Linked DNA regions of Homo sapiens: regions 1, 3, 4, 5 and 6 are each linked to region 2. The links are contacts of gene promoters, found by promoter capture Hi-C in blood cells and fetal thymus (Javierre and others, 2016). All regions are on one chromosome and are shown on one strand. The core of a region is centred on a gene start or on the middle of the fragment in contact, and the rest is flanking DNA. Distances in the headings are between cores, read along the strand shown. Region 1 holds the start of LOC107987245 (a long non-coding RNA gene). Region 2 holds the start of NTN1 (netrin 1). Region 3 overlaps STX8 (syntaxin 8). Region 4 has its middle 9.9 kb from the start of RNF222. Region 5 overlaps STX8 (syntaxin 8). Region 6 overlaps RNF222 (ring finger protein 222).

Region 1 (3,364 bases), core at 60-2,559, 540 kb after region 2:
ACAATGAATGTATATTACTTTTATAATCTAGAAAAAAAATACCATGTTTACAAGCTAAGAATGGGGCCAGGCACCGCAGCTCACACTTGTAATCAGGAGCAATGCTTGAGGCCTTGAGTTTGAGATCAGCCTGGGCAACACAGCCAGGGCTCATCTCTAAAAAAATTTTATTTTAACTAAAACTAAGAATGTAAACCACCCCAAAACCTTCTTATTTAATCTTAGGCTCAGATGAAGGATTACCAACGTGAATTAGAAGAAGCTCGTGCATCCAGAGATGAGATTTTTGCTCAATCCAAAGAGAGTGAAAAGAAATTGAAGAGTCTGGAAGCAGAAATCCTTCAATTGCAGGAGGTTGGTTTGTTACTTATCCATTTGTTCAACAAATATATTTGCCCTTGAAATTTCTCCAAGATCAAAAAAAAGTTAATATATTTGTAGCCCACTGTAATGTCAGTATACATTTTTGTTTTTTATTTTTTTAAGTATCCATTTTTAATATGGTCCTCAACCTTCTTGTTGCTTCAGTTTGGAAACAGAAAGTTATCACTTCGACACTGCTCACATATATTCCTCTACCTGGCAAAAGGCAAAGGAGCTGATGAGTAGCTTTTCAGGCCACCTTCTTGGCCTGTTCCCCTGTGCAGGAAAGGGAAGTGTTGATAAGCACAAGAACTGTGTAACTCCAACCTTGGTGATGCAAAATTGCCTTGTTTTTACACAGAAGCACTACTCATGTGATAACTTAAAAGGAGAGAAGTTTGTTTCATTGAATTCCTGTTATTCCTTCATTTATCTTTCTTGTAAGTTCTCATGAAGCAGAGACTGATAAAGTGTTGCATATAGGAACTGTAACAGTGCAAGGCACACTTAAATATACACATTACCGTATAAATGATGGATAATCAACATTTCTTCAAACCTGAAAAGGTAAGTTAAATGTTATTATCAGTTAATATGAAAAAACTCCCAATACAAACACCTATAAATATTGGATAAAATATTAGCAAAGGCAGAGTTGAGCTTGCAAGAAAGGAGGACGGCTCTCTAGGTGTCAGGAATGAACAAGGAACTCAAAACCAGATCAGTAAACACGGAGCCGACCCTGAGAGAGAACCTGAGAGCCAGCTTCAAGAGGTTTTCGTCCTGCTGTCCTCTATCTCACCATTTTTTGCTCCTTTTTTTTCTGACTTCTTGAGTTGGACACTTAGCTCATCAGCTCTCAAGCTTCTTGTCTGATATGTTTATAAAAGACTGTAAATTCCCCTCTAAGATCGGTTTTCATCATGTTCCACAAATTTTGATGTGGAGTAATTTCATTGTCATGTAATTCTAAATTTTTCTAATTTCTATTATGGTTTCTTCTTCATCCTGTGAATAATTTAAGCTTGCGGTTTAAATTTCCAAATGTATGGCATTTGCTTGTTTTTTAAGTTGATTTCTAGTTTTATCACATTGTGGTCAGAGAATGCTGAGAAAGAGCTCTGGGACCTAGAACACGTTAGTTTTTATAAGTGTTCCGTGGGTACTTAAAAATGATGCATGTTCATCAATGAAGTAGATGTGTAAGCTCTATGTATCCATCATGGAGTTGATTGGTGAGATCCCCAAATGCTCATTTCCCCAAAGGCGATGTGGCTGTTGGAGCCTGCCTCCTAGAGAGCGCTCCTGGGCCATTACCCAAGTGTCCAAGAGGCATTCTCTGTACCACACTGTTTTTTCTGAAAGTGTTTCTTTCAGACTCTCAGGCAAGGCCTGACTCACACTGCATTAGGGAGAAGAGACTGAGCTGGAAAGCTGGCCCTGCCCTTCCCCCTATTTCTGACACTTTTCCTTCCCTCAAACACCTCCGTTCATCTGGCTTAGAGGCCCCGGGGTCCCTTCCTTTCTCCCGTGGGTCCCTCAGTCTGCCTAGAGCCCCACCCCCAAGCCAGTGGACAGTGAGTGTTTCATAGGCCCAAGAAGACAAAACACCAGAGGCCAGATGGTAGAGCTGTCTGGAGTCAGTGGCCCTGGGATCAGGCCTGGAACATTCCGTCAGCTGCCTCTCTTTCCTTCCTGACTCCCACCCTGCCCTGTGTGCCAGGATGTGCTAGAACCCAGGCCTGTCAGAGGACCTTCAGCCTACACTCATGTAAGGCAGGTGCACGTGCTGGAGCAGACAGAGGAGCTCCCGTGCAGCCCTGCTCCTAAGACACCTTCAAGGTGTGCTCTTGCCAAATGTGGCATCTTTTGGAAGGGGCAGCTGGTGGGAAGAGCCCTGGACAGGGAGTAGGAACCCTGACTTTTTGCTGCTGACTAACCTTGGGACTTTGGGCCAGTATCTTCATCCAGGTGGGCCTCAGTTTCCTCATTTATAAGATAAATGCACCCTTGACTCCTTTCCATGGCAAATCATCCTTCCAAAGAAGTTTGTGGAAAAGCAGCCATCAGGCAGTTCCTCCCGTGGGCTGGCAGGCACAGGGCTGTCCCCATTGTCCAGTCCTCTGAGAGCCCCCTGTGGAGCCACAGTCCCCTTCAAGAAAGAGGCCTTGCCCACCTTAGAGGCCCAGCTCTGCAAACACTTGAGCCCCTGCGGAGGCCCCCACCTGCCTCCTCTCCATGGGAGCATTGATCCTTGTTGCGGCACAGCTGCCTGGATCCGCACTGGTCTGTGCAGCCAGCGTCCTTGATCTCAAACTGTTTATGTGAAAGATACTTCAGGGCCATCAGTTGGTATAGCTCATGTTTCTTAGGGTTCAGGGTTTATATAAAGTTCATGCTCAGTTTATATTAAGAAGCACCAGCTTTCCAAGAAGGGCAGGAACATAGCCACCTCTTACGTTGGAGGTGACAGCAAAGCCCTTATGGCAATGAAGACTTTCCTCTGGACATCTGTGTCAGATGCTGACACCACACACCACCTGGCTGGCCTGCACCGAGCAGATTTTCTTGACAGTTTAATTTCTCAAATCTAAATGACAGCTTGAGGTGCAGGTAAACAGTGACAGGAGCAAGGTCGCTGTAGCTCCAGGCACTGTCAGATTCCACAGGTGAGGAAACTATTCACAGCCAGAGCTTAACGCAGTCTCCACTGCTTAGGAACTTGCCTCATCTGAGCGAGCCCGCCGACACGCCGAGCAGGAGAGAGATGAGCTGGCGGACGAGATCACCAACAGCGCCTCTGGCAAGTGAGTCTCCCACGGCCGGGGGTGGGTTCTTCGCCCTCAGGCACGCGCACTGCTGAGAAGGCTGGAGGTGTCCACACACCTGGCATCAGCGGGTGGTTTGCTCCTCCCTCGCTGGGCCTGGGCTGCCTCAGCCATGGTACCCCGTGCCAGTCCTGCCGAGCCCTGCACACCGCAGGTGGGAGCCGTGGTGTGCA
Region 2 (3,468 bases), core at 535-3,034:
CTGCAGTCGCACACCAGGCTGTCGTCGCGGTCGCGCACGCAGCGGGCCGCGTGGCCGTTGCACTTGCACCGGCCGCCCACCTGCAGGTCGGACACCGCGTAGAAGTACGAGTCGCGCGCCAGCTCCGAGTCGTCCTCGTTCTCGTCGCCGAACGTGTGCAGGCGGCTGAAGGCCACGCGGATGTCTGTGGCCGTGACCCAGTCCTGCAGCACGGGCGAGTTGTCGAAGTCGTGCGCCGAGGGCCGCCCGTCCAGCGTGCTGAAGGCGATGAGGCCGCCCGAGAGCGGGCGCATGTCGGTGTGCGAGTCGGTGCACACGGCCTCCTGCTCGTTCTGCTTGGTGATGGGCGCGCGGTGCGGCCGGTTGTACATCTTGCGGCACTGCGTGGAGTAGAACTGGAAGGGCACCCACGTGCGCCCGTAGTCCATGGACTTGTAGATGGCCATGGACTCGGGCCGCGGCGAGCAGAACTGCAGGCTCACGTAGGTCACTTCGAACTTCTTGCCGAGGGACAGTGTGAGCGTGACGTTGTGCGGGAACTGCAGGTAGTTCTCGGACTGCCAGCACGTCAGGTTGTGCGGGTTGTTGAGGTCGGTGAGGAAGGCGGGCGGGTGCGCCTTCTTGGGGTCGGACGCGTTGCAGAGGTGGCACGAGCGCAGCCGCTCCTCGCCGCGCTCGCTCACCACGCAGTAGCGCGCCGGGGGCCGGCCGCAGGTGCTGGACACGCGCACGTCCTTGCCGAAGGCCGCATTGACAAAGTCCGGGATGCAGCGGCGCGGGTGGCCGTTCTCGTCCGAGCAGGGATCGGGCTGCGCCGCCTGGCCCGCGAACATGCTGAGCCCGGGCCCGCCGCGCACCGCGCCCACCAGGCACGCCACCGCCGCCAGCGCCGCCAGCGCCTCCCACACTGCGCGCATCATGCTGCGTCCAGCTTGCCCCGGCCCTGCCGCGCCGAGGATCTGTCCGCCTGCCGCAGAAGGCGCCTGCGGAGAGAAGGGAGCTGCGCTCAGCCAGCCCGCCCCGCGCCCTCCAGCTCTCGGCGGGGTGGCGAGCGGAGATGCGGGAGAACGCCCGGCTTCCTGGGCACCCACCCCGCAGCCGACTGCCCGCCTCTCTCCCCCAAAGTCCCGCGGGCGGCGAAGCCGGGGCCCTCCAAGTCCGCACCGCTCGCGCCCCTTCTTCCCCGCCCGGCGGGAGAACGCTCTGCTTCCCCGCCACCGCCGCCCCCACGCCGCCCGAGGGGCATGCCTGAGCCGGTCTCCCCGTCCGCGACCAGCCCCCCTCGCACCCCAAGTTTCGGGCGCAGGAGAGCTGGGGGACCCCGACTCTGCACGGCCCGCGCCCCTTCGTCTCGCAGCCCGGGGTCCCTCTCAGATGCCCCCCGATCGCGTCCCCGCCGGAAAGTCCGCGTTCGGGACTTTACCTCTGGAGGGGGCAAAAGAGAAAGAAAAGTTTGCCTGGCCCCTCCGGGGAGCCCGCGCGCCGGTCGCCGGAGAGCCTCTCGCTCGCTGCTAGCAGGCGCGTCCCGCCTCAGCGCGGGCTTGCCAGCTCCATGCCCGGCGCGGCCGCCGCTGCCCCAGCCCCAGCCCCGGTCCCGGCCCCGCCGCCGCCTCTCTCGCCCGAGTGACTACGCGGCCGCCCGGCTCCCGCCGCTCCCGCCGAGCTCGGAGTGCTGCCCTGCCCGCGCCCGGGGCGCACACACACTCACGCTGGCCGGCGCGCACTCACACACACGCGCGCTCGCCCCCGAAGGCTCCGCCGCCGCCGCCACTCGCGCTGGGAGTGAGGGGCGGAGGGGAGCGCGGGGGCGGGGGGCGGGGCCGCCGGGCGGGGCGCCGGCCAATAACGTCCGCGAGCTGCCGCCAGCTCCGAGCAAAGTTTTCACCCCGGGAAAGAAGAAAGTTAAAGGGAACCGGCCCGGACGCCCGAGAGGGAGAGCACAGGCGGGTGGGAACCCGGGAGCCCGAGAAAGAACAGCAGAGACAAAGAGAAAGCGAGGAGAGCACCCGGGGAAACCCCGGAGAGGGGGCTGGGCCGGGCCAGGCGCGCACCCCGTGGGGGAGGAGGGGCCGCCGGGGACTGTCAGCCTCGCCCGCGCCCCGCGCCGCCCGGAGAGCCTCACGCCCGGGGGAGCGCGCGGGCGGGGGAAGGGGGCCACTTTCTCCCTCCCGGTCCCAGCCAAACACATCTGTGTTTGTTTTCTTTGCTGCGCGGAGGTCGGGCCTTCCTCTAACCCAGCCTGATGGCCCCCGGTGGCACCGCGCACAGGGCTGTGCCCCTGTGGGCACGCAGCCCGGGAGCGTGAGGAAGAGGAGGAGGATGTGACCTCTGCCTGCTCTCCATTTTTGCCCGAAGCCCCCGGGGTCCGGCGAGGAGGGGCTGCTCGCCCGCACTCCCACGGATATCACCGTGCGTGAGCCTGTCTGTCGGGAACGCGGCTTCGTTCTAGCCAAGGGAGCAGTGGTGGGCAGGAGGCTGAAGGGGTAGGAAGCTGGCAGCACCTGGACGCTGGCCACCGCCCCTCCAAGACGGGCCTGCCTGGTCTCAGGCATGGGGACAGCCCAGCCCTCCCCAGATCCCCTGAGGCAGGCGTATCGGTACTTCCTCAACCGCATTTTTAAGGGTGCAAAGCCCTGTAATAGCTCATGGGACCTCCACAGCAGCTTTGCTGTTGTATTAACTCCATTTTGCAGATGAGGAAACTGAGGGTCCCGGGAGCTGAAGAAACTCGCACAAGATCAACCCCCAAGTAAACATCAAAAACAGGAAGAGAAGCCTGGGCTCCTTCCACTGCAGGGCATTCGTCAAATGCATAACCTTGCCGAATGATGGTGTCATGGGGCATCTGCGGGGCCACCCAGCCCCTCCTTGCCTCATTCTCCATCGCCCCAATAAAAAGACTGAGGACAGTGACAGCATCCTTTGGTCATCTTGCAACAGCAGCCAGAGAGCTCTGGGAAAGGAATACACTGGGCCGAGAGTTTGGAACGGAATCTCTGCTCGTTTATTTGTTACTTGTAGATGTGTGGTCCAGTAATAGACCCGGATGAAAAGCCCCAGGTCCTGGTTCCGGCCCAAGGGCTGCCTTGCTGCATTAGCTCCATTAAGTGCCTCAGTTTGTCTTATTGGCATTTTCATAAACCCTGAGAATCTAAGAAGGGGCCTCGGGGCTCGTCTGGCCCAGCTCCGTCTCCTTGGAAGAAGGCCTTCCCCAGCCTCCCAGAGAGACGGCCACCCAAGCCAGCTCTTCCAGGGATGGGAGCTCACCACAGCTCAAGAAAATAAATCCATTCCATTGCAGGACAGCCTGGATTCATCTTCTTACCCCGGGGTAGCAATTTAGCTGTGCCTTCTTGTGCCGTTTACCACACTCTGCACTGTTTATTTATGCCTTACCTCACCTTGTGGCAGAAAGGATTTCAGGTAACTTACAAGGGTACATAAAATATGACACAATAACAAATTAAA
Region 3 (3,435 bases), core at 735-3,234, 540 kb before region 2:
CTTTGAAAAGTGTCTATTCGTGTCCTTTGTCTGCTTTTTAATGGGGTGGATTTTTCTTGTAAATTTGCTTAAGTTCCTTATAGATACTGGCTATTAGATCTTTGTCAGATGGATAGCTTGCAAATATTTTCTCACAATGTGTAGGTTGTTTGTTCACTCTGTGGATAGTTTCCTTTTCTGTGCAGAAGCTCTTTAGTTGATTAGATCCTATTTGTCAATTTTTGCTTTTGTTGCAATTGCTTTTGATGTCTTTGTCCTGAAATCTTTGCCTGTTCTTATGTCCAGAATAGTATTGCCTAGGTTGTCTTCCAGGGTTTTTATAGATTTAGGTTTTACAGTTAAGTCTTTAATCCATCTGAAGTTAATTTTTGCATGTGGTGTAAGGAAGGAGTTCAATTTCTATCTTCTGCACGTGGTAGCCAGTTATCCCAGCACCACTTATTGAATAGGGAATCCTTCCCCCATTGCTTGTTTTTGTCAGCTTTGTCAAAGCTCGGATAGTTGTACGTGTGGCCTTATTTCTGGGTACTCTATTTTTTTTTTTTTTTTTTTTTTGAGACGGTGTTTCTTCTCACCTAGGCTGGAGTGCAGTGACATGATCTCAGCTCACTGCAACCTCTCCCTTCTGGCTTCAAGTGATTCTTGCATCTCAGCTACCCGAGTAGCTGGGATTACAGGTGTGTGCCACCATGCCCAGCTAATTTTTGTATTTTTATTAGAGAGAGGGTTTCGCCATGTTGGCCAGGCTGGTCTCGAAATCCTGACCTCAAGTGATCTGCCCGCCTCGGCCTCCCAAAGTGCTGGGATTATAGGCGTGAGCCACTGTGCCTGGTCAACTGAGTTCTCTATTCTGTTCCATTGGTCTATGTCTGTTTTGGTTACTGTAGCCCTGTAGTATAGTTTGAAGTTGGGTAGCATGATGTTTCCAGCTATGTTATTTTTATTTTATTATTTCTTTTTGAGACAGAGTCTTGCTCTGTCGCCCATGCTGGAGTGCAGTGGCACGATCCTGGCTCACTGCAACCTCTGCCTCTCGGGTTCAAGTGATTCCCGTGCCTCAGCCTCCCAGGTAGCTGGGATTACAGGCATGAGCCACCACTTCCAGCTAATTTTTGTAGTTTTAGTAGAGATGGGCTCTTGTCATGTTGGCCAGGTTGATCTCGAACTCCTGACCTCAGATGATCCTCCCGCCTTGGCTTCCCAAAGTCCTGGGATTACAGGCATGAGCCACTGCGCCCGGCCCAGCTTTGTTCTTTTTGCTTAGGATTGCCTTGGCTATTTGGGCTCTTTTTTGGTTCCATATGAATTTTAAAATACTTTTTTCTAGTTCTGTGAAGAATGTCAATGGTAGTTTAATAGGAATGGCATTGAATCTATAAATTGCTTTGGGCAGTATGGCCATTTTAACGATATTGCTTCTTGCTGTCCATGAGCATGGAATGTTTTTCCATTTGTTTGTGTCATCTCTGATTTCTTTGAGCAGTGTTTTGTAGTTCTTCTTGTAGAGATCTTTACCTCATGGTTAGCTGTCTTCCTAGGTATTTTATTTTCTGTTGGCAATTGTAAATAGGAGTGCATTCCTGATTTGGCCCTTGGCTTGACTGTTGGTGTACAGGAATGTTAGTGATGTTTTGCACTTTGATTTTGTATCCTGAGACTTTGCTGAAGTTGTTTATAAGCTTAATGAGCTTTTGGACTGGGAGTATGAGATTTCCTAGATATAGGATCATGTTGTCTGCAAACAGGAATAGTTTGATTTCCTCTCTTCCTATTTGGATGCCTTTTCTTTTCCTTCCTTCCTTCCTCTCTCTCTTTCTTTTCTTTCTTTTCCTTCCTTTCTCTCTTTCTCTCCCTTCCCTTTCCTTTTTCCTTTCCTTTCTCACCTCTTTTCTCCTCTCCTCTCCTCTTTTTCTCCTGCCTAACTGCCCTGGTCAGGACTTCCAATACTATGTTGAATAGGAGTGGTAGCAGAGGGCATCCTTGTCTTGTGCCAGTTTTCAAGTGGAATGCTGCCAGATTTTGCCCATTCAGTATGATGTTGGCTGTGGGTTTGTCATAGATGGCTCTTATTATTTTGAGGTATGTTCCTTGAATACCTAGTTTATTGAGTGTTTTTAACGTGAAGTGGTGTTGAATTTTATCAAAAGCCTTTCCTGCTTCTATTGAGATAATCATGTAAGTTTTGTCTTATTTCAGTTTGTGTGATGAAACACATTTTTTGTTTTGCATATGTTGAACCAACCTTGCATCCCAGGGATAAAGCCTACTTGATCGTGGTGGATAAGCTTTTTGATGTGCTGCTGGATTCGGTTTGCCAGTATTTTTTTGAGGACTTTTGCAATAATTGATTCTTTTTTTTTCTGTCTTATGTTATCCTTTGTTTCTGTTTTTATTCATTTTCAGGAGTTGCTTTTTCCAACTTTTTAATTTAATTTTAAATAAGTAAAACATTTACATTGTTCAGAAGTCAAAATTATATAAAAGTGACACTCAAAGTCTTGTTCCCATTCCTCTCTTTTCTACCTTTTCTTAACCTACTTCTTCTAAATAACCATTTTCATTAATTTCTGGTTTATTCTTCCTGTGTTACTTTATGCAGAAATAAGCCTCTATGCGTGTGTATGTGTGTGTCTCTGTGTGTCTGTGTGTTATGTTTTTCCTTTTATATAAAAGATACTCTTTCGGGCCAGGCGCGGTGACTCACGCCTGTAATCCCAGCACTTTGGGAGGCCTAGGCGGGTGGATCACCTGAGGTCAGGAGTTTGGGACAAGCCTGGCCAACATGGTGAAACCCCGTCTCTACTAAAAATACAAAACATTAGCCGGGTGTGGTGGCGAGCACCTGTAATCCCAGCTACTCGGGAGGCTGAGGCAGGAGAATCACTTGAACTCAGGAGGCGGAGGTTACAGCGAGCCGAGATCGTGCCACTGCACTCCATCCTGGGTGACAAGAATGAAACTCTGTCTCAATAAATAAATAAATAAATAAATAAATAAATAAATAAATAAATAAATGGATGAATGAATGAATGACAGATACTCTTTTGTATCTTGGTCTTTTCACTTAATAATATAGAAACCTCTACATTTCATTTCATATTCCTTGTTCTTCTTTAGCGCTGTATGGGTACTCTATTGCGTAGATGTAACATTCTTTATTTAACCTGTCTCCTAAGGAAAGGCAGTTAAATTGCTTCCAGTCTTGAGTTGTGAATAACACCGCAGTAAATAACCTTGTCCTTTAAAAAAATTATGTGCATAGGTGTCTTTTAAAGGTGAGTTCTCAGAACCAGGGCATATGTAATTTTTTTTTTAACCTGATGTGAAATCCCCCCTCAAAGGGGTTGTCACTCTTGCCACCCCACCAGCAATGTGTGAGCACTTCTGTTTCTTCACAGCCTGGCCAACAGAGGGTGTGTGAATCTTCTGAATTTT
Region 4 (3,546 bases), core at 957-3,456, 610 kb after region 2:
GTGGATGCCATGATGCCCAGGTAATTTTTGTATTTTTAGTAGAGACAGGGTTTCACCATGATGGTCAAGGCTGGTTTCGAACTCCTGACTTCAGGTGATCCGCCCACCTCGGCCTCCCAAAGTGCTGGGATTACAGGCATGAGCCACTGCGCCCGGCCAACAATTTTTATAATAGGGAAAAATTGGAAACAACCTAAATATGAATCAACATGAGATTAATTAAGCAAATTACTACATCTATTTAAAAAGAGGATCTAAAAGAATGTTTATTGGGATTAAAAGTTAACAATTGAAAAAAAAAAAAAGGTCCCAAAAGCATTCATACAATGTGACCTCATTTATCTTAAAAATAATTATATATCATATGTATAAATACAACTATACATTTTAACATAATTATATATTATATGGCTATATATATATATGCACGCTGGAATAAACACCAAAATATTAATGGTAGTTTTCTGTAGAAGTGGTGTACAGCTTGTATTGTGTGTGTGTGTGTGTGTGTGTGTGTGTGTGCGTGTGTGTTTATGTGTGTGTTAAAATTTTCCACATTTTTTTTCAATAGTAGTGCTATTTTTATCATCCGAAAATAAGATTGTTCTTACTCTGAACTCTGTCCCTGACCCGGGCCTTACCTGTCTCAAGAATTGAGGCCTCCTAGCTGTCCGGGAGGATTTAAGCCCTGGGATGAACACTGCCAACTCAGAAAATCCTCCAAGGCGGCCAGCTCACGTCAAGCACTGTTTCTCCAAATGCTGCCGTGTCCCTGAGAACAAACCTCTCCACTGTCTTGGTGGCTTCCCTCCCCCGCCTGTCCTGAAGCATCTCTGCCCCGGGAGTGGGTCACTTGACAACAGTGAGAGGGAATCCGTGAGGTGGGTGCCAGGAGTGCAGCCCCGCGCTGCCCCGGCTGGCACAAGCTTGGGCCATGACTCAGCCCCTTTCTGCTCACCTGGTGTCCCGCCCTGCTGTCTCCACTTCCTCCCCAGCCCGCACCCTCGGGTCACCGTCCTTCCTTGCTAGTTTCATCCTGTTGAAAGAGTCCAAGCTACTTTTCTCTGAATTCTTTTGTTTGATCCACTTCAGTGGTTTCCCATCGAAAGGGCTCTCGGGTCAAGCATTTCACCCGGGCCTTGGGCTCAGCCACGGAAAGTTCTAGAGTCGCCTGTTTCTAGCTCTGGGATCCCAAGTTTCTGTCCCCTGCGTGGGCGCCAGCTCTCACCCACTCGTGCCAGAGTCCGCATGAGTGGCACTTCAGATGGTACACAAGTGAACCTTTTTATACTTAGAAGTTTGCATTAATTAATTAAAGTTTGTACCGTTTCATGAATTAATTGAGACAGAGTCTTGCTGTGTCGCCAGGCTGGAGTGCAGTGGCTCAATCTCCGCTCACTGCAACCTCCACCTCCCAGGTTCAAGAGATTCTCCTGCCTCAGCCTCCCGAGTAGCTGGGACTACAGGCACGCACCACCACGCCCGGCTAATTTTTTGTATTTTAGTAGAGACGGGGTTTCACCATGTTGGCCAGGATGGTCTCAATTTCCTGACCTCGTGATCCACCCACCTCGGCCTCCCAAAGTGCTGGGATTACAGGCGTGAGCTACCGTGCCCGGCCCCTAATTATATTTTTAAGGTACAGACACTTATATTTGAGGCTGTTAAAGGTATGAATGCTTATGTTTAAGGGTTGTGTTTTGTTTCGTATTTTTTCCCAGGCTGGACTGCAGTGGCGCGATCTCTGCAACCTCTGCCTCCCAGGTTCAAAAGAAATTCTCATGGCTCAGCCTCCCGAGTATCCGGGATTACAGATCCGCTCCACCACACCTGGCTAATTTTTGTATTTTAGTAGAGATGGTGTTTCACTATGGTGCCCAGGCTGGTCTCTAACTCCTGAGCTCAAGCGATCCACTCACCTCCGCCTCCCAAAGAGCCAGGATTACGAGTGTGAGCCACGGTGCCAGGCCAGGCCATGTTTAAGATATTTTTAAGAAATGGATGTTTTTGCTGGGTGCCGCGGCTCATGCCTGTAATCCCAGCACTGTGGGAGGCTGAGGCGGGCAGATCACTTGAGGTCAGGAGTTCGAGACCAGTCTAGCCAACATGGTAAAACTCCATCTCTACCAAAAAATACAAAAGTATTAGCTGGCCGTGGTGGCAGGTGCCTGTAATCCCAGCTACTTGGGAGGCTGAGGCAGGAGAATTGCTTGAACTTCGGGGGCGGAGGTTGCAGTGCGCCGAGATTGCGCCACTGCACTGCACCCCAGCCTGGGTGACAGAGTGAGACTCTGTCTCAAAAAAACAAAAAAAAGAATGGAAAGTAGAATGACTGTGTTGCTCAAACACCCCCTTCACCTCACTACTGGCCCAACACACATGAGTTAGGCTTGAGAAGGCAGCTTTTTTTTACTTAAACATTTATTGGGCTCTAATAATACTGGGTCTTTGTGCCAGAGCCTACAGAGATGTGTGAAATAGGATCTCCCTTCATCGAGGTATTAAAAGATATAGAGGAAGGCCAAGGGCGGTGGCGCACATCTGCGGCGGGAGGAGGGTCAAGGGTCATGTACACACACACTAAAAACATAAAAATTAGCCAGGCGTGGTGGCACATGCCTATAATCCCAGCCTCATGCTGAGCACTTTGGGAGGCCGAGGCAGGCAGATCACTTGAGGTCAGGAGTTCGAGACCAGCCTGGCCAACATGATGAAACCCTGTCTCTACTAAAAACACAAAAATTAGCCAGGTGTGGTGGCGCATGCCTATAATCCCAGCCACTCGGGAGGCTAAAGCAGGGAGAATTGCTTGAACCCAGAAGGTGGAGGTTGCAGTGAGCTGAGATGGTGCCACTGCACTCCAGCCTGGGCAACAGAGCGAAAACCTGTTTCAAAAAAAAAAAAAAAAAAGATGTAGAGGAGATGCCAGGAGAGATGTAATGAGGTAGAAAGGCATTCCAGCCAGGAAACAACCCCCAAAAAAAAGCATGAAAAAAAGATCACAGAGGCCCACAAGCCCAGGGCCTTCAAGGGACCTGAGCTGGAAGCCAGAGCTGTGGCCATGCTGTGTAGCAAAAGATAGCCCAGCAGAGGGGCTGGCTGGAGCAAGTCTCCAGAGAGCAGTGAGGGCTTCATGGGCTCCCTGAGTATGGGCTGTGCCTCAGGGCAATGGGGAGCCGAGGAAGTCTTCAGAGGGAGGGGATGGGATGGGGTGAGACCTGTGGCCACTGCATATTGTTGGGCTGGGGAGCTTGGGAACCAAAGCAGGTGAATTGGGAACGAAAATCAGTTCCTATTCTGCCTGCCAAGCCATGTGCCCTGACACAGCCAGAGAAGAAAGAGGGCCTTTTTCCAATTAACTTCCTAGAGGGAGGCGCCTCTATGTGTTCTGTTCAGAGGTCCAAGGTGTCCCCGGTTCTACCAGCAGTCCTGGGCTATGTAATAATGGGGCAGAGCCCAGGAGGGTGAAACAACAGGGAAGCTTGGGGCAAAGCAAACACTTGAGCTGGCTGGAGCAAGCCAGGCCAGAGCCGACAGCTGCAAATG
Region 5 (3,407 bases), core at 534-3,033, 510 kb before region 2:
TGCCGTCAGGGCTTCGGGTAGTTGCTGTCTCTTCATTTCCCTTCATCTCCCGATACTCGATGTCGGCTTTCCCTTCCGAGTGACTCCTCTCGTGGTCTCAGAATAGCTACAGCAGTTCCCAGCCACACTCCAAGCATAACAATAGAAGAGAAAGGAGAATGTGTTTTGCATAAGTAATATAATTCATATGGCTAAGAAATCTGCAAAGCATTGAACAGGATTCAGTGAAAAATCTTCCCACTATGTCTCCTTCTCCTCAACATAAGTAATTACTCTCAATAATTTTTGGCATATCCTTCTAGGGTTCTCTTAAGCACATACCAGCAAATAGGAATATATTATCTCCCTCCATCTTTTACACACATGGTAACATATCATACATAGCATTCTGCAACATTCTTTTGTCACCTGATCGAATATCTTGGAGATTTTCCCAATCGTGACGTAAGGTTTTGTCATTAGTTTTTGTAGCCTTATAATATTTCATTGTATGCATTTACTGTCATTTAACTAGGCTCTTATATATATGCGAGTATTGTTTTCAGTCTTTTTCTATTACAAAAATATAGTAGAGGGATTTTGCATATGTGAAAGTATATCTCTAGGTGAGTTCTTAGAAGTAGGATGGCTGGAGGATGGGCACGATGGCTCACGCCTGTAATCCCAGCACTTTGGGAGGCCAAGGCGGGCAGATCATGAGGTCAGGAGATTGAGACCATCCTGGCTAACACGGTGAAACCCCGTCTCTACTAAAAATACAAAAAATTAGCCAGGCGTGGTGGCGGGTGCCTGTAGTCCCAGCTACTCAGGAGGCTGAGGCAGGAGAATGGTGTGAACCCGGAAGGTGGAGCTTGCAGTGAGCCGAGATTGCGCCACTGCACTCCAGCCTGGGTGACAGAGCAAGACTCCGTCTCAAAAAAAAAAAAAAAAAAAAAAAAAAGTAGGATGGCTGGGTCAGAGGGTATGTGCGTTTGTAATTTCAATAGCATTTCACAAGTTATTTTCTAGCGGGGTAGAACCCCTCTAGACTTGTGCCAGCAATTTAGGTGAGTGCCTGTTTTCCAACAGTCTTTCCCAAAGAAAGTTGTTAAACTTTTGTATCCTACTCCAGACTAACATATAAAGAGAGTTTTATATAGTAATATCTTAGTAGAGTTTTATGTAATTATTATATATAACTATAGTGAACCAAGGTTATAAAGAAATTCTCCTGTGCTTTTTTCTGGTACTTCTGTGGTTTTATAACTGTTAAATCTTTGATCCATTTGGAATTTAATTGGTGAAGAGTATGAATCCTACGTTTTTCCTACTTGGCTCTATTCTATTTTTGTGACTGACGATATTTTTTACTTAGTAGTTCATCTTCTCATCTTCAGATGTAAGATGCTGCATTATCATAGAATACGTTCCCATATGTATTTTGATCTATTTCTGGACTTTGTAATGTGTTCCATTGGTCCTTCTGTCTACTTATGTGCTAGTACCACATTTTCTAAAATATGGATACTTTAAGTTTTAATATGTGATAGGACAAATCTGCCATTAAACTTCTTTTTAAGAGTTTTGCCTTTTTTTTTTGAGACAGAATCTCACTGTGTCGCCAGGCTGGAGTGCAGTGGCGCAATCTCGGCTGACTGCAACCTCCGCCTCCTGGGTTCAAGCAATTTTCCTGCCTCAGCCTCCCAAGTAGCTGGGATTACAGGTGCGCACCACCATGCCCAGCTAATTTTTGTATTTTTAGAAGAGACGGAGTTTCACCATGTTGGCAGGATGGTCTCAATCTCTTGACCTCATGATCCGCCTAGCTCGGCCTCCCAAAGTGCTGGGATTATAGGTGTGAGCCACCACGCCTGGCCGAGTTTTGCTTATTTTTTAACATGAATTCTAGAATCAGCTAATGTAATTCCAAAAGAGAGAACAACTTTTAAAAACAATTGGGATTGTGTTAAATCTTGAAATCCTTTACAATGTTGAATTTTCTCATCCAAGATTGTGGGATTTGTTTGTTTGTTTGTTTGTTTGTTTGTTTCTCCAAGGCATTTTTCAGGTCTTTCAGTAACGTCTTCTTCACAAAAGTCTAACATGTTTTTGGTCAAATTTATTTGTTTTTTTTTTAATCTTTTTGGTTGCTGTTTTAAATCCAGGTTTTTTAAATTGTACTTTTCTATTGTTGTTGTTTATATGAAAACTATCAATAATTAATGTCCGTTATTAATATTAAAGCCATTTTCTTAATTCTCTAATAGCTTTTAGCATTTTTTTATCTTGGCTTTTTTTGTATTTTTCAGTTATTTCTTTTTAAAGAGCAATGAAATGCTTCCTGGAAGCTGCCTAATTGACTCTGGCTCAAAATAGAAATAGACTATTGTATCACATGATCATGTTATACCAAAAACGATGGGAGAATGGGGTTGCTGTGGTTGACTAGGTTAGTTCAGGAGGGAGATATTCTTGAGCTGAAAATGAGGATGAGGTTATGGTCTCTGAGCAGTGGAGCCCTGAACAAAATTGAGGTTCTGATAACAAGGAAGATGAGACATACTGATGTTGGGTAGGCAAGTTGTAGTGTCTGTATCAACCCTTCTCTGCAACTCCCTAAGCAATAGCAACGCTGTTCTTGAAGTTTCTTGAAGAACCAGAGACTCAAGGTTCAATTCTTTGACCTCATTAAGAACCTTCTTTCTTGTCACTTCTCCTTTTATTGAAATCCCAGAGAGTTAGTCACTCGCTGGCCTTTTGGGTTGTTTTATTTAGGCTCAAGTGAACCTTAGTCATTACTTTAAGTCTTCAATTCACTTTTTAAAGAAGCTGGGATGTTTACACCTATCACTTGTCTTCCTGAAGAGGCTTAGGAGAAGTACTTTTGAAGTGCAAGCGGTTTTTTTGTTTTGTTTTGTTTCGAGATGGAGTCTCACTCTGTCACCCAGGCTGGAGCAGTGGCACGATCTTGGCTCACTGCAGCCTCTGCCTCCGAGGTTCCAGTGATTCTCCTGCCTCAGCTCCCAAGTAGCTGGGACTACAGGCACATATCACCCTGCCCAGCTCATTTTTGTATTTTTATTAGAGACGGGGTTTGACCATGTTGGCCAGGCTGGTCTTGAACTCCTGAACTCCGGTGATCCACCTGCCTCGGCCACCGAAAGCCGTGGCATTACAAGGCGTGAGCCATCGTGACCAGCCTGCAAGCAATTTTAACGTGACACATTGATACAGTTTCATAGAGCTGGTTTCTTCTGCAGACAGATAATCTTGTATATATTTTGTTAATTCTTGTTTAATTCTATTTTGAGAAGTAGTAGCTTCTGACTTTTTCTACACATTCTGGTGAAATGTTAATAGATAATTTGGTGCAAGGACTGATAGAATGACAAAGGGAGTATTTGAAGTAGGAACTGATAAAAAAAATT
Region 6 (3,540 bases), core at 1,024-3,523, 630 kb after region 2:
CGCTACGTCACATTCCTCAGCAAGAAGAGCTCCCGCTGGCCCTCCATGCTGGACAAGAGCTCCCAGACGCTGGCTGTGCCCGTGGGCCTGCCCTCCGTGCCCCCACTGGACAGCCTGGGCCACACAAACCCCCTGGCCGCCTCCTCCCCTGCCTGGAGGCCACCTCCAGGCCAGGCCAGGCCGCCAGGCAGCCCGGGCCAGAGCGCCCAGCTCCCCCTGGACCTGCTGCCCAGCCTGCCCCGGGAGTCACAGATCTTTGTCATCAGCCGCCACGGGATGCCCCTGGGGGAGCAGGACAGCGTGCTGCCCCGCCGCAGCCTGGCAGAGCTCTCGGAGGCCTCCCTGGCGCCCCGCTCCGCCCGCGCCTTCTGCTGCCGATCGCGGGCCCTGCTGCTCATCACGCTCATCGCTGTGGTGGCCGTGGTGGCCGCCATCCTGCCCTGGGTGCTGCTGGTGAGGAAGCAGGCGTGAGCCGCACCTCAGGGAGGCCGCCGGGCTAGCCGTGGCCTGGGGTGGGACAGGAGGCCCACGGCAGCCCTGGTGCCACCAAGCTCCGAGGGGCACGCGGGCAGGCAGAGGGGAGGACCTGGGCACAGAGAGGGCCTTGGGCTTCCCCGACCCCCGCAGGGGCTTCCGCTCGACAGAGAGGCTGGAGCTGACTCCATGCGCGCGGCGCGTGTTCCCCACGTGAATCCTCAGCAGATGCGTTCCCCTTCCTCTAGGCTGGGAAGATGGGTGGTCACTGCCCTCCTGCAGGCTCACCAGCCCTGAGCGGCAGACCTTACCTGCCAGGTGACCTGCCCAAAGCCAGGTGGGCCCCTCCAGGGACAAGAAAGTCCTGCAGGCAGACGTCCTGCTGGGCTGGCCGATGGCAGGATCCTCCAGGCCAGAATTCCCACCCAGGATTTGCGGCTTGCCCTCGGGAACAGACAGAAGGGGCGCCCAGAATCTCAGCACTCACCCCCGACCTCCACCACAGCACCCCATCCCCTAACCCTCCCTGTCCCCAACCTGCCAGCTTAGAAGGGCTTCCCTGAAGGAGAAGCTGATCTCAGAGGCTGCCCCAGAATTTCTGGGAGAATGAACAGAAACTGTTCTTCCTGCAGAGCTGAGGCCAGATCCAGAGACAGGGGTTGGTTGATAGAGGCCACCCCAGCAGAGTGCCCCACGAACGGAGCCAGAGGTCTCCCTGAGCCCTCCAGGCCAAAGGAGGGATCCAAACTTTGAGTCCTGGGGTTCTCAAGGGTGGCAGGGAGTGGAGGGGAAGCCTGACAGGCGAGCCTTGAGTCAGCTGAGAACTATGTGGGCAAACGAACCCCTGGGGGCTCCCGCCTCCCTCCCAGCTAGTCCTCCTCCTCATGACCCAGCCACTCATTTAGAGGCCACACCAGCTGGGCCAGTTTCCTAGGTGGATTGCCAGGCTGGGCTGGGTGAGGAAGGGTGGGGAGGAAAACAGCTGTGCTTGTCAGGGACGCCGCCATCTCAACCGAGAAATGCTGAGGCCCAGGTGCCCTCAGCTGCTCCTCAAGGTCTCTTTGCCTGGGGCCCCCACGTTGGACTGTGAAGAGCCTCAGGTTGGGTCTAGCCTGAGTCATTCGGGGATAGCTATTGGCTGTTTATTGAGGTCCGTAAGTCAACCAACACCTTTCAATGGAAAACAACAAAAACCTCCAGCAATTATCTCAACTAAGTGGTGGTCTGCACCCAGCTGTGCCCACAGCTGAGCCCCCAACCTCCCTCAACCTATACCCCTCTGGGCAATTTGCTGTCTTGGTGGGGAGGGAAGAAATAGCAGTCTACGTTTTATCTAGTTCCTAAATGCCTGCAGTGCTGGTCATTTGGGGACCGCTGGGGAATTGGGCCCCACTACAGGGGATATTTGGGACATAGAGAGGGCTGCTTTAAAAGCACTTGTGGGCTTCTCTGTGCTCATTTCAAGATTACAGAAGTGGCCAGGCACGGTGGCTCATGTCTGTAATCCCAGCACTTTGGGAGGCCGAGGTGGGTGGATCACAAGGTCAGGAGTTCGAGACCAGCCTGGCCAATATGGTGAAACCGCGTCTCTACTAAAAATACAAAAATTAGCCAGGAGTGGTGGCACGTGCCTGTAATCCCAGCTACCTGGGAGAGACAGAAGATTCGCTTGAACCCGGGAGGCGGAGGTTGCAGTGAGCCGAGATCGCGCCACTGCACTCCAGCCTGGGTGACAGAGCGAGACTCTGTCTAAAAAAAAAAAAAAATTACAGAAGAGCACAGGTGCTATTGGAGGGGAGGGATACAGATGGATTCCATGGGGAAAATATTTATTATAGGAATAAAAATAATGTTAAATTTGCAAAGACTCCAATGAGTCTCTTTTAACCTCAGCCAGGCTGTTTTAAACAGTGTCATGAATTTCTGGGAACCTGGTTCTAGTCTTTTCAGATTCTGTCGTATTTGCCAAAAGTTTCTTTCAACATACTCTCAGTGTTTTTGTATGTTCAATGGTGACCTGTAGCTGCAACTCCTTTTATTGTCAGAGAATGCCAAAAGCTATTTTTAAAATAAAGGTATATATTTTCTCAAAGATTCCAGAGACTCTGCAATTTATGTGGGAAGCTCCGAGCCTGGACTTGAAGGACAATTCACTTTAGGTGAAAAAGTTTGATGCGGTGTCTCACTCCTGTAATCCCAGCACTTTGGGAGGCCGAGGCAGGTGGATCACGAGGTCAGGAGTTCGAGACCAGCCTGGCCAGTATGGTGAAACCCCATCTCTACTAAAAATACAAAAAATTAGCCGGGCATGGTGGCGCACGCCTGTAATCCCAGCTACTCGGGAGGCTGAGGCAGGAGAATCGCTTGAACCTGGGAGGTGGATGTTGCAGTGAGCCGAGATCATGCCACTGCACTCCAGCTGGGTGACACAGCGAGACTCTGTCTCAAAAAAAAAAGAAAGAAAGAAAAGAAAGAAAGGAAAAGAAAAAGTTTGAAATGCAAACAGAAATGGCTCTTACACATCTATTCAACCACAGTTGCAAAAGAAATTAAAATTAAAATTTGGCTGGCATGCCATTTTTCACCTATGAGCTTGTCGAAACCTGGAAGCCTCATAACCCACTCCGCTACTGAAGCTGAGGGAGGCAGAGGAATGGTTAGTGGGAATGTGTATTATTAAAATCCCTATCAAGGGCAATGTGACATTATCTACCAAAATTTCTGCTTTGCTCCAGCAATTCCTGTTCTAGAAACATCCTACAGATATACTTGCATGTATGGGCAGCAGCATACATGTGATGCTATATAATTGCAGCATTGTTTATAAAAATAAAGGATTGGAAAAACCCTAAATGCTAATCAATAGGGTACTGGTTATCTATCTTAAGGTCCAGGGAATATCATGCAGCTGTAAAAGAAAAAAAAAAAAAGAACAAGAAAGGACTCAATAAACTTATATGGAATGTCTCCAAGGTACAATGGAAAATGAGGAAAAGCAAGGTGTGGAACACCGGATACTGGATACTACAATTTGTATAGAAAGAGCAGGAAATAGGCCAGGCACAA

Evidence for each region. The method cuts DNA at HindIII sites, captures the fragments that hold promoters and counts their contacts. A CHiCAGO score of 5 or more calls a contact.
Region 1: a fragment that was not itself captured here is called in contact with the fragment with the promoter of NTN1 in region 2 in 2 of 17 cell types (naive CD8 T cells and naive CD4 T cells); the score reaches 5.5 in naive CD8 T cells.
Region 3: a fragment that was not itself captured here is called in contact with the fragment with the promoter of NTN1 in region 2 in 1 of 17 cell types (endothelial precursors); the score reaches 5.4 in endothelial precursors.
Region 4: a contact is called between a fragment that was not itself captured here and the fragment with the promoter of NTN1 in region 2, in 3 of 17 cell types (naive CD8 T cells, total CD4 T cells and naive CD4 T cells). The highest score is 6.8, in naive CD8 T cells.
Region 5: a contact is called between a fragment that was not itself captured here and the fragment with the promoter of NTN1 in region 2, in 2 of 17 cell types (endothelial precursors and megakaryocytes). The highest score is 7.4, in endothelial precursors.
Region 6: a fragment that was not itself captured here is called in contact with the fragment with the promoter of NTN1 in region 2 in 1 of 17 cell types (naive CD8 T cells); the score reaches 5.8 in naive CD8 T cells.

Annotation. Positions count from the first base shown.
Region 1 is chr17:8,481,128-8,484,491 of GRCh38, reverse strand. MYH10 (myosin heavy chain 10) reads left to right here. Exons shown (of 43, transcript NM_001256012.3): 37 at 226-354; 38 at 3,082-3,170. It overlaps LOC107987245 (a long non-coding RNA gene), which reads right to left and starts at 3,082. Exons shown (of 2, transcript XR_001752780.3): 1 at 2,304-3,082; 2 at 1-922. The HindIII fragment of the contact is 160 bases long and covers 1,230-1,389 here.
Region 2 is chr17:9,019,826-9,023,293 of GRCh38, reverse strand. NTN1 (netrin 1) reads right to left here and starts at 1,784. Exons shown (of 7, transcript NM_004822.3): 1 at 1,709-1,784; 2 at 1-983. The coding sequence starts at 920. RefSeq lists silencers at 1,533-2,322, 2,373-2,422 and an enhancer at 1,843-2,386. The HindIII fragment of the contact is 7,248 bases long and covers 1-3,468 here.
Region 3 is chr17:9,562,733-9,566,167 of GRCh38, reverse strand. All of the region lies in intron 2 of STX8 (syntaxin 8), which reads left to right. Among named protein-coding and RNA genes, the nearest start is that of STX8, 11 kb to the left of the region's middle. The HindIII fragment of the contact is 606 bases long and covers 1,682-2,287 here.
Region 4 is chr17:8,405,941-8,409,486 of GRCh38, reverse strand. No RefSeq gene overlaps it. Among named protein-coding and RNA genes, the nearest start is that of RNF222, 9.9 kb to the right of the region's middle. The HindIII fragment of the contact is 2,555 bases long and covers 929-3,483 here.
Region 5 is chr17:9,532,958-9,536,364 of GRCh38, reverse strand. All of the region lies in intron 4 of STX8 (syntaxin 8), which reads left to right. Among named protein-coding and RNA genes, the nearest start is that of STX8, 41 kb to the left of the region's middle. The HindIII fragment of the contact is 5,861 bases long and covers 1-3,407 here.
Region 6 is chr17:8,389,730-8,393,269 of GRCh38, reverse strand. RNF222 (ring finger protein 222) reads left to right here. Exons shown (of 3, transcript NM_001146684.3): 3 at 1-2,568. The coding sequence ends at 471. Among named protein-coding and RNA genes, the nearest start is that of RNF222, 6.3 kb to the left of the region's middle. The HindIII fragment of the contact is 6,206 bases long and covers 1-3,540 here.